2 separate regions of the Homo sapiens genome follow, and region 1 is linked to region 2. The links are contacts of gene promoters, found by promoter capture Hi-C in human tissues and cell types (Jung and others, 2019). All regions are on one chromosome and are shown on one strand. The core of a region is centred on a gene start or on the middle of the fragment in contact, and the rest is flanking DNA. Distances in the headings are between cores, read along the strand shown. Region 1 overlaps ATP8A1 (ATPase phospholipid transporting 8A1). Region 2 holds the start of UCHL1 (ubiquitin C-terminal hydrolase L1).

What was found. Contacts are between HindIII fragments. The study calls those that stand out against the background at their distance.
Region 1: a fragment that was not itself captured here is called in contact with the fragment with the promoter of UCHL1 in region 2 in 1 of the 25 tissues and cell types used here (lymphoblastoid cells).

What each region holds. Positions count from the first base shown.
Region 1 is chr4:42,527,367-42,531,578 of GRCh38, reverse strand. All of the region lies in intron 20 of ATP8A1 (ATPase phospholipid transporting 8A1), which reads left to right. Among named protein-coding and RNA genes, the nearest start is that of ATP8A1, 130 kb to the left of the region's middle. The HindIII fragment of the contact is 4,513 bases long and covers 1-3,730 here.
Region 2 is chr4:41,254,956-41,259,314 of GRCh38, reverse strand. UCHL1 (ubiquitin C-terminal hydrolase L1) reads right to left here and starts at 2,387. Exons shown (of 9, transcript NM_004181.5): 1 at 2,306-2,387; 2 at 2,189-2,200; 3 at 1,578-1,706. The coding sequence starts at 2,338. It overlaps UCHL1-DT (UCHL1 divergent transcript), which reads left to right and starts at 2,588. Exons shown (of 3, transcript NR_102709.1): 1 at 2,588-2,756. RefSeq lists an enhancer at 1,177-1,677 and a silencer at 1,512-2,271. The HindIII fragment of the contact is 4,741 bases long and covers 376-4,359 here.

The DNA of each region.
Region 1 (4,212 bases), core at 225-2,724, 1.3 Mb before region 2:
TGTTGATTGCTCTGGCCTTGACTTCCAGTACTATTTTGAATAGCTGTGAAGAAAGAGGGCTTCCTCATCTTGTTCCAGTTCTTGGAGGAAAGCTTTCAGCTTTTCCCTTTTCAATATGATGTTAGCTGGGGAATTGGTGAGGAAATACTCATGACAGTTACAGTCTTTGTTTCTGCAGCTGGTCATGTAGTCGTAACTGGTATTGTTGACTGCCCTCTTCTGCTACCCATTCTGTTTTCCCTTTGCCTTCAGCAAGCACCTCAGCAGGTTGTGGTTTTTTTCCTGGTGGAGTGACCCAAACCTTCATTCCTGAAGGGTCTGGACCATTTGTAGTCCTGCCTGGATTGGGCTGTTGTAGTTTCCCATTGACCTTAATCACAGGGCATGGTAATACTAAGAGTCGCCCTAATGGATTCGCTGTATTCCGTACATACTCTTCCCTACCTCTGTTATGGAGCAGTAGACTGATTTCATCTTGGTAGTCTGGGTCAGTCACCCCAGCCAACACTGTAACTCCCTTAGCCTGTTGACTTAAAGGTAGGAGGAGCCCAAAGTGTCCAGGTGGCAATCTTAACTTCCAGTTTAATTGAATCATTGTTGTGTCTCCTGATAACAGTGTTCCTCCCTCTGGAACTAAGACCTCTAGGCCAGCAGAACATAATGTCGCAGGAACAGGAAGCAAAAATGTTGCTAGTGGATCACTAGGAGTGATGGTGAGTGGTGCCACTTCCACTTCCACCCCTTGATTCCTGGACCCCTGAATCCTGGCTATGGGAGAAACAGTACCATATATTGGATGCTGATTCAGAGCATACACGGCCTTCTGGAGAACTTTGCTCCGGCCCTGCAAAGTGTTGTCACCTAGTTGGCACTGTAATTGTAACTCAAAAGGCCATTCCACCCTTCTATCAATCTAGCTGCTTCAGGATGATGGGAACATGGTAAGACCAGTGAGTTCCATGGTAAGACCAGTGAGCCCACTGCCACACGTCTTTAGCCATAAAGTGAGTGCCTTGGCCAGAGGCAGTGCTGTGTGGAATACTGTGACAGTGGATGCATGAGCCCACTGCCACACTTCTTTAGTAAGTGCCTTGGTCAGAGGCAGTACTGTGTGGAAGATCTTGAGTCCACAGATGGTAGTCTTGGCAGAAGCACTGCGTGCAGGATAGGCAAACCCATATCCAGAGTAAGTGTCTGTTCCAGTGAGGATAAACCTCTGCCCTTTTCATGATGCAAAAATCTGCCACCAGGTGGCTGGCTGATCACCCCAAGGAATGGTGCCATATCAAGGGCTCAGTGCTGGTCTCTGCGGCTGGCAAATTGGGCACTCAGCAGTGGCCATAGCCAGGTCATCCTTGGTGAGTAGAAGTCCATGTTGCTGAGCCCATGCGTAACCTCCATCCTTGCCACCATGGCCACTTTGTTCATGGGCCCATTGGGTAATGACAGGGGTGGCTGGGGAAAGAGGCTGAGTGGTGTCCACAGAACAGTTCATCCTATCCACTTGATTATTAAACTCCTCCTCTGCTGAGATTACCCGTTGGTGAGCACTCACATGGGATACAAATATCTTCACGGTTTTTGACCACTCAGAGGTCCATCCACATACTTCTTCCCCAGATTTCTTTGTCACCAATTTTCCAGTCATGCTTCTTCCAAGTCCCTGACCATCCAGCCAAACCATTGGCTACAGCCCATGAATCAGTATATAATCACACATCTGGCCATTTCTCTTTCCATGCAAAGTGCACAACCAGCTGCACTGCTTGAAGTGCTGCCCACCGGGAAGATTTCACCTCACCACTGTCCCTCAGGGATGTCCTAGAAAGGGGCTGTCGTGCTTCAGCTGTCTACTTTCGGGTAGTGCCTGCATATCGTGCAGAACCATCTGTGAACCAGGCCCTAGTCTTCTCTTCCTCTGTCAACTGGATCATAGGGAACTCCCCATGAGGCCATCGGTGCAGGCTGGGGAAGAGAAGGCACAGTGGTAGGAGTGGAGACCATGGGCATTTGAGGCACTTCCTCACATAACTTACTTGTGCCTTCAGGACCTGCTCAAGCCTGATCACGTATATACCACTTCAATTTGATGATGCAGTGCTGCTGGTGCATGACCCACTTGATGGCTAGATGGGTCAGAAAGTACCCAGTTCATGATACGCAGTTCAGGTCGCATCGTGACTTGATGACCCATGGTCAAATGTTCAGTTTCCACCAAAGCCCAGTAACAAGCCAAGAGCTGTCTCTCAAAAGGAGAGTAGTTACCTGCAGATTATGGCAGGGCCTTGCTCCAAAATCCTAGATGCCTCCACTGTGATTCACCTATGGGGGCCTGCCAAAGGCTCCAAACAGCATCCCCGTCTGCCACTGACACCTCAAATACCATTGAATCTGCTAGGTCATATGGACCAAGTGGCAGAGCAGCTTGTACAGCAGCCTGGACCTGTGTCCGTTCTGGACCCCACTCAAAACTGGGGTCCAGTGGCCTTTAGGGTCACTTGATAAATGGGCCAGAGTAACACACCTAGATAAGGAATGTGATGCCTCCAAAATCCACATAAGCCCACTAGGCATTGTGCCTCTCATTGTAGGAGGGGCCAAATGCAACAACTTATCCTTCACCTTAGAAGGAATATCTCAACAGCCCCCACACCACTGGACCCCTAGAAATTTTACTGGGGTAGAAGGTCCCTTAATTTTAGTCAGGTTTATTTCCCATCCTCTGGCACACAAATATCTCACCAATAAGTCCAGTGTGTTTGCTACTTCTTGCTCACTGGATCCAATCAGCATAATGTCATCAGTGTGATGGACCAGTGTGATATCTTGTGGAAGTGAAAAGCAATCAAGGTCTCACTGAATAAGATCATGACACAAAGCAGGAGAGTTGATATGCCCCTGGGGTAGGACAGTAAAGGTATGTTGAAGGCAAATTGCTTGGTGGGCCTTATAGGCAGGAGTGGAGAAAAAGGAATTTGCCAAGTCGGTGGTTGCATACCAGATACCAGGAGATGTGTTAATATGCTCAAGCAATGAAACCACATCTGGTACAGCAGCTACAATTGGAGTCACCACTTGGTTAAACTTCTGATAATCCACTGTCATTCCCCAAGATCCATGTGTCTTCTGCACAGGCCAGATGGGAGAGTTGAATGGGGATGTGGTGGGAATCACCACCCCTGCGTCTTTCAAGTCCTTGATGGTGGCACTAATCTCTGTAATCCCTCCAGGGATGTGATATTGTTTTTGATTTACTATTTTTCTAGGGAGAGGCAGCTCTCATGGCTTCCATTTGGCCTTTCCCACCGTAATAGCCCTCACCCTACCAGTCAGGGAGCCAATGTGGGGATCCTGCCAGTTGCTAAGTATGTCTATGCCAATTATGCATTCTGGCATCAGGGAAATGACCACAGGATGAGCCCGGAGACCCACTGGACCCACTGCAAGTCAGACCTGAGCTAAAACTCCATTAATTACCTGACCACCATAAACCCCTATTTTAACTGGAGGACCACAATGACATTTTGGGTCCCCTGGAATCATCACCAGCTCAGAGCCAGTGTCCAGTAGTCCCCAAAATGTCTGATCATTTCCCTTTCCCCAGTGCAAAGTTACCCTGGTAAAAGGCCAGAGGTCTCTCTGGGGAAGGATGGGAGAAGGATTAACAGCATAAATTGTCGGTTATGTAGTGGAGTCCTTCCTCTAGGGTACCCAGCCTCCCCTTCATTCAAGGGGTTCTGGGTCTATAAACTGGCTCAAGTTTGGAAATTGATTGAGGGACTGTGATTCTCTGTTTTTGTAACTCAAAATTAGTCTTTTATCCATTCGACCTAGAAGTTTTCTGCTTATATAAATTTGAAAACTCAGGCAATTCCTTTTGAGTGTAGTGCATCTCCTCATGAGTCACACTCTCATCCTCACGTCTAGGGACTCGCTGGGACTTTAGTCTAGTTATAGGTCTAGAAGCAAACAGGGGTGTTGGGGGTGGGTCCAGAAGAGAATCAACATCATCTTGCCTGGCAACTGCTTCAGGGGAGGCCATCGTTGTTACCTCAGGCAGCACAGGCTTTATCTCCTCAGACAAAAGTGGAAAGGCTGATGGCAACATGGTTCAGAGAGGGGAAGTTGCCCCTACTGGGGATGGGGAAGCTGTTACTTCTGGCAAAAAAGGTTCATCAGAGTTTACAAACTCAGTGTCCCCAGCTTCATCAG
Region 2 (4,359 bases), core at 1,138-3,637:
GGTCCATGTAGGGGGTCATAACATTCCCTTAGTCAAAAATTAAATGCCTTCCAAATTAACATTAGCATCTTTGGAGTCAACCTATAAAACCTCAACTTTTCTTTCAATCGGCTTCAGTGTTTTGTCCAGTAGGCATTCTGTGTAGCAGAATAGGCGCTCGATAAATCTGATAGGTTGAATTGAAACTAAAGGACAAAGTATCGAGCTCTTTCAAACATAACACAAACTAGAATGTTCTCTAAACAAGATTCAGCAAAAGGAGAACAGTCAGCTTTTAAAGGCAAACATGCTGCACCACTGCCTCCCAGAGGCCTTGCCTCTGAATGCTGCTCAAAACCTCCGAGTCATCATGGTTGCTCTAATAAAAAACCTCTGTGTGATGCTCAACTGGAGACAGGAGACTGATTTGGTCAACCAGGAAGCTAATTCGACTTCCAACAATTTGGCATCTTCCTTTTAGCCCAAGTAAAAGACTTTAGCAATAAAAACATGTCAGTGAGATCATCTTATTAGCTGTAAATAAGTGTTTTTACCCACAATACTTAGCTTACTTACTAGGAGGAAGGCTTGGAACTTCCCATACTCTTGATTTTGGCTACAGATGCTTCCAGAACACCTAGCCTTAGGACGGTGCTTCAGTTAACCTCACTCTTTAGAGTGATGCCCCAAGTTTTGCTAAAGCTAATTTCAGTCACTCCCACATCAGCGGTCAAGTGACAGCAATAGGAGATAAGACAATGCCATGCGCTAATGACTGGGATTCCATACATCACAAGACTGCAAATATCCTAGCTATCCTTTAAAAAAAAAAATCTGACGCTGTCTTTCAGATACATCTATCCATGCACACTTGTAGGAGGAAAATCATTTCAAGGGAAATGCAAAGGTGCTTTCAAAACTGAGCTAATAACCCCCTATTTCAGTTAGCTACAAGGTCAGAGATGAACAAGGATAAGTGAAGAGGAAGGAGGTTCCCACACAGAAACCATACACAAAATGATTAAGCTTTAAGAAATACATTCAAGAGGCTAAAAACCAAGTGTGCAAGTGGTGGGAGTGGAGAAGAGAGAAGAACCCCTTAAGACCATCAGAAACCCAAGTAATGGAGGCGGAGAATTAGCGAACCTAATTGTTTCCCTGCGATTTAGGTCAGCCCTTCCCCCTCCATTCTACAGCTAGGTGGGAGTCTGAGAAGCAAACAATGAGTTGACAGGTTATAGCCCTTAAAGGGAAACCAGCAGCCATTCCCCGGAACCGGAGGCTCGAAAAAGCCCAAGTTCGAGGGAACTCATGAGTAGGATGAATGATTTCCCTGGATAACGGGATAGATGGAACTGAGATACTGCCTCTCTTCCAAATTTAAGGCAATTGTGGACGGATGGGCAAGAAGGCGACAGGCACCGCTGGAACAGGAGCCCAGGGAGTAGGTACCACGAAAATGCAGGCTCCTCCCTTCCTTGTAGGCGCGCCCCGCATCACCTACAGGGGAGGGGGCGGGGCGGGGAGCCCCCGAGGACTCAAGCTGGGGAGCGGCGTGCACTGCCGGCGGCCGGCGCATCCTGGGCCCCACGCCCTACCTGGGCCGTGAGGGGAAACAGCAGCAGCAGCGCGCAGGCAGGCGCTGGCACCGAGCCCAGAGACTCCTCTTCCAGCCCCAGCACGTCCACGAAGCGCCACTGGCCGGCGACCCCCAGCCGGGACAGCACCTGCGGAGAGGAGACAAGGCGGCCAGGCGCACGGGGACACGCGGGTCGCGGGCACCTGCCAGGGGGCGGGGCCAGGAGGCGCGCGCCCTCCGCGCCCGCACCCGAGCCTGGGAGGAGCCCCAGTCCCGCCCTGCCACCCCCACCCGGGCCGGCGCAATGACACAGCACAAAGCGCGGCCCACACGTGGCGCCCGCGAAGCCCGTGCAGCCGAGTCTGTGCTGCCCGCGCCACGCCCTCGGGAGCTCCGCCTGGCGCTCGCTCGCCACGGGGCGCAGCCCCCTCCGTCTCCCCGTGACCGGTTTCGTAGAGTCACCCGCTAAATGCAGGGGCCCAGGAAAGGCGCCCAGCCCACGCCCCAGCCCGGCCGTCTCCGGTGCTCGCAGCGGGCGGCTTGGTCCCTGCCAGCAGCCGGAACCGGTGGGCGCCCCCGCCTCGGCGCTCGCGGGGGAGGGGGCCAGAGACGGCGCGAGACGCCACTCACTTTGTTCAGCATCTGAAAGGCAAATGCAAAGAAAAAGGCAAAACCGAACCGATCAGCGACTCGGCTCCCCCTCCCTCGGCCTCGCGCTCTCCGGGTAGCGGTGCACCTGGCGCTCACCTCGGGGTTGATCTCCATCGGCTTGAGCTGCATCTTCGCGGAGCGCCCGGCAGAAATAGCCTAGGGAAGACGAAAAACAGCTAGCGGAGCCGCCCAGGCTGCAGCTATAAAGCGCCGGCCAGACGCACTGTGAGGCCTGTGCAGGGGGAGCAGGGGCAGAACCAAGCGAGGGGGAAACGGACGGTCGCGGCCAGATGGGTACGAACCCCCCGTGCGCAGCGCGGAGTGGTACGGCCGGGCCCCCAAACCTTGCAGTCTCACTCGCCGGTGAGATAATCTGGTGGTTGTGGAGACGGGATTTGTTGGTGGGTGTTCCTTGAGTGTATGGAGCAGTCCTTTTGATGGAGTCTTTAATTTTGGGCGAAGTTTCTGGAAACCCATCCTTTCACCATCCCAATTACTCTAAAGCTCGAGTCTCTGAAGCATTTGAGAAAAAGCACAAATTCAACAGGTATATATTTAATACGAATGAATGTAAATGTGTGCCCCCCGCCCCAAATCTCTCAGCAGTTTGCGTTTAACCTTAGACAATTCCTCCTCCATGTTAAGTCAGACCAGTACCGAGGTTCGTTTTTAAGTGACTACCTAGAATAAAACAGAATCTGGTAGATAACAGATACTGCATTAGGAATGCTGATGTAATGTGACTCCCGCGGAAGAAATGGTTGGTCCTGGGAGAGCAGTAGAAAGCTGGGGGATGTGAGGGTAATACAAGACACAAAGAAGGCAGGCGATTGGAGACTTGAGAAAACAGATCCAGGGAAAAGATGGGTATGATTTTGAGCGAGAGGCTGTAAAAGGAAAAGCATTTTTAAAAGAATGGGAAGCTTTGAAAAATAAAATGTCTGAGTTCACCGCAGAATACTCCCAATGAAGAAGAAAGGGAATGGCAACCAAGGAAACCACTGTTCTCTAATGATCTCAGGTGATCTCTAATGATCTCTAGTCAAAAGATGGAGAGAGAAAGCATTTGCTGAAGAATGAATTTTAAAAGGGACCAAAATCTATAAGAATTGTGCCAGGAAAGCTAAGCTGCAGAACAAAGTGGGCTTGCAGAAATACTTAGGTAGCGAAGGAAGCAAGAAGGTTGAGTATTTTTTAAAAATAGGCACCGAAGAGAATAATGATGATGGTAAAAGAATAGACCTTCTATTTAGGAAGTTGAGGTTAACAGATGACAGAGGGAAGGGAGGGAATCAACATTTTTTGAGTTATTGTTTTTGGGGATCCTTTGCATGTGTCTCTCATTTAATCCTTAGAGGAGCCGTGAAGAGACTCATATTAGTGCAATTTTACAGATCAGAATCCCAGGCCTAGAGAAGTTAATTTGCTTACGGTCACAATTGAAAAGTAAAACTGAGAAGTAAACCCTGCTAAACTGGGCTCCAAGAGCCCATTCTTTATCTAAGATTCCACAACATTCTACTTCTATTTTCTTTCCATTTTTGCCATTAGAAAATGACCTTCACACACAAAAATGAGAGAGAAAAAAATTAGTAAGAGGAGCTTAATGGGTGAATCTTATGGTATGTAAATTTTCCCTCAATAAGGTTGTTAAAGAAAAAAAGAGGTGAAGGTCAAGACAAGTGACTAGGTTATATTGAATGAGTTCTTGCCTTTAGACAAAGACAAATTACATTTCCAATTTACTTCATTTATTCATTCACTCAACAAATATTAAGAACCTACTGTGTGCTGGGTGCCGAGCTTGGAAAGTTTGGAATTAGGCATACAAAGATGAACACAATAAACATGGAAATTTCCCTCATGCCGTTTTTTTGTTTGTTTGTTTTGTTTGTTTTGTTTTGAGACGGAGTCTCGCTCTGTCGCCCAAGCTGGAGTGCAGTGGCGCGATCTCGGCTCACTGCAAGCTCCGCCTCCCCGGTTCACGCCATTCTCCTGCCTCAGCCTCCGGAGTAGCTGGGACTACAGGCGCCCGCCACCACACCCGGCTAATTTTTTTTGTATTTTTAGTAGAGACGGGGTTTCACCGTGTTAGCCAGGATGGTCTCATCTGCTGACCTCGTGATCCGCCCGTCTCGGCCTCCCAAAGT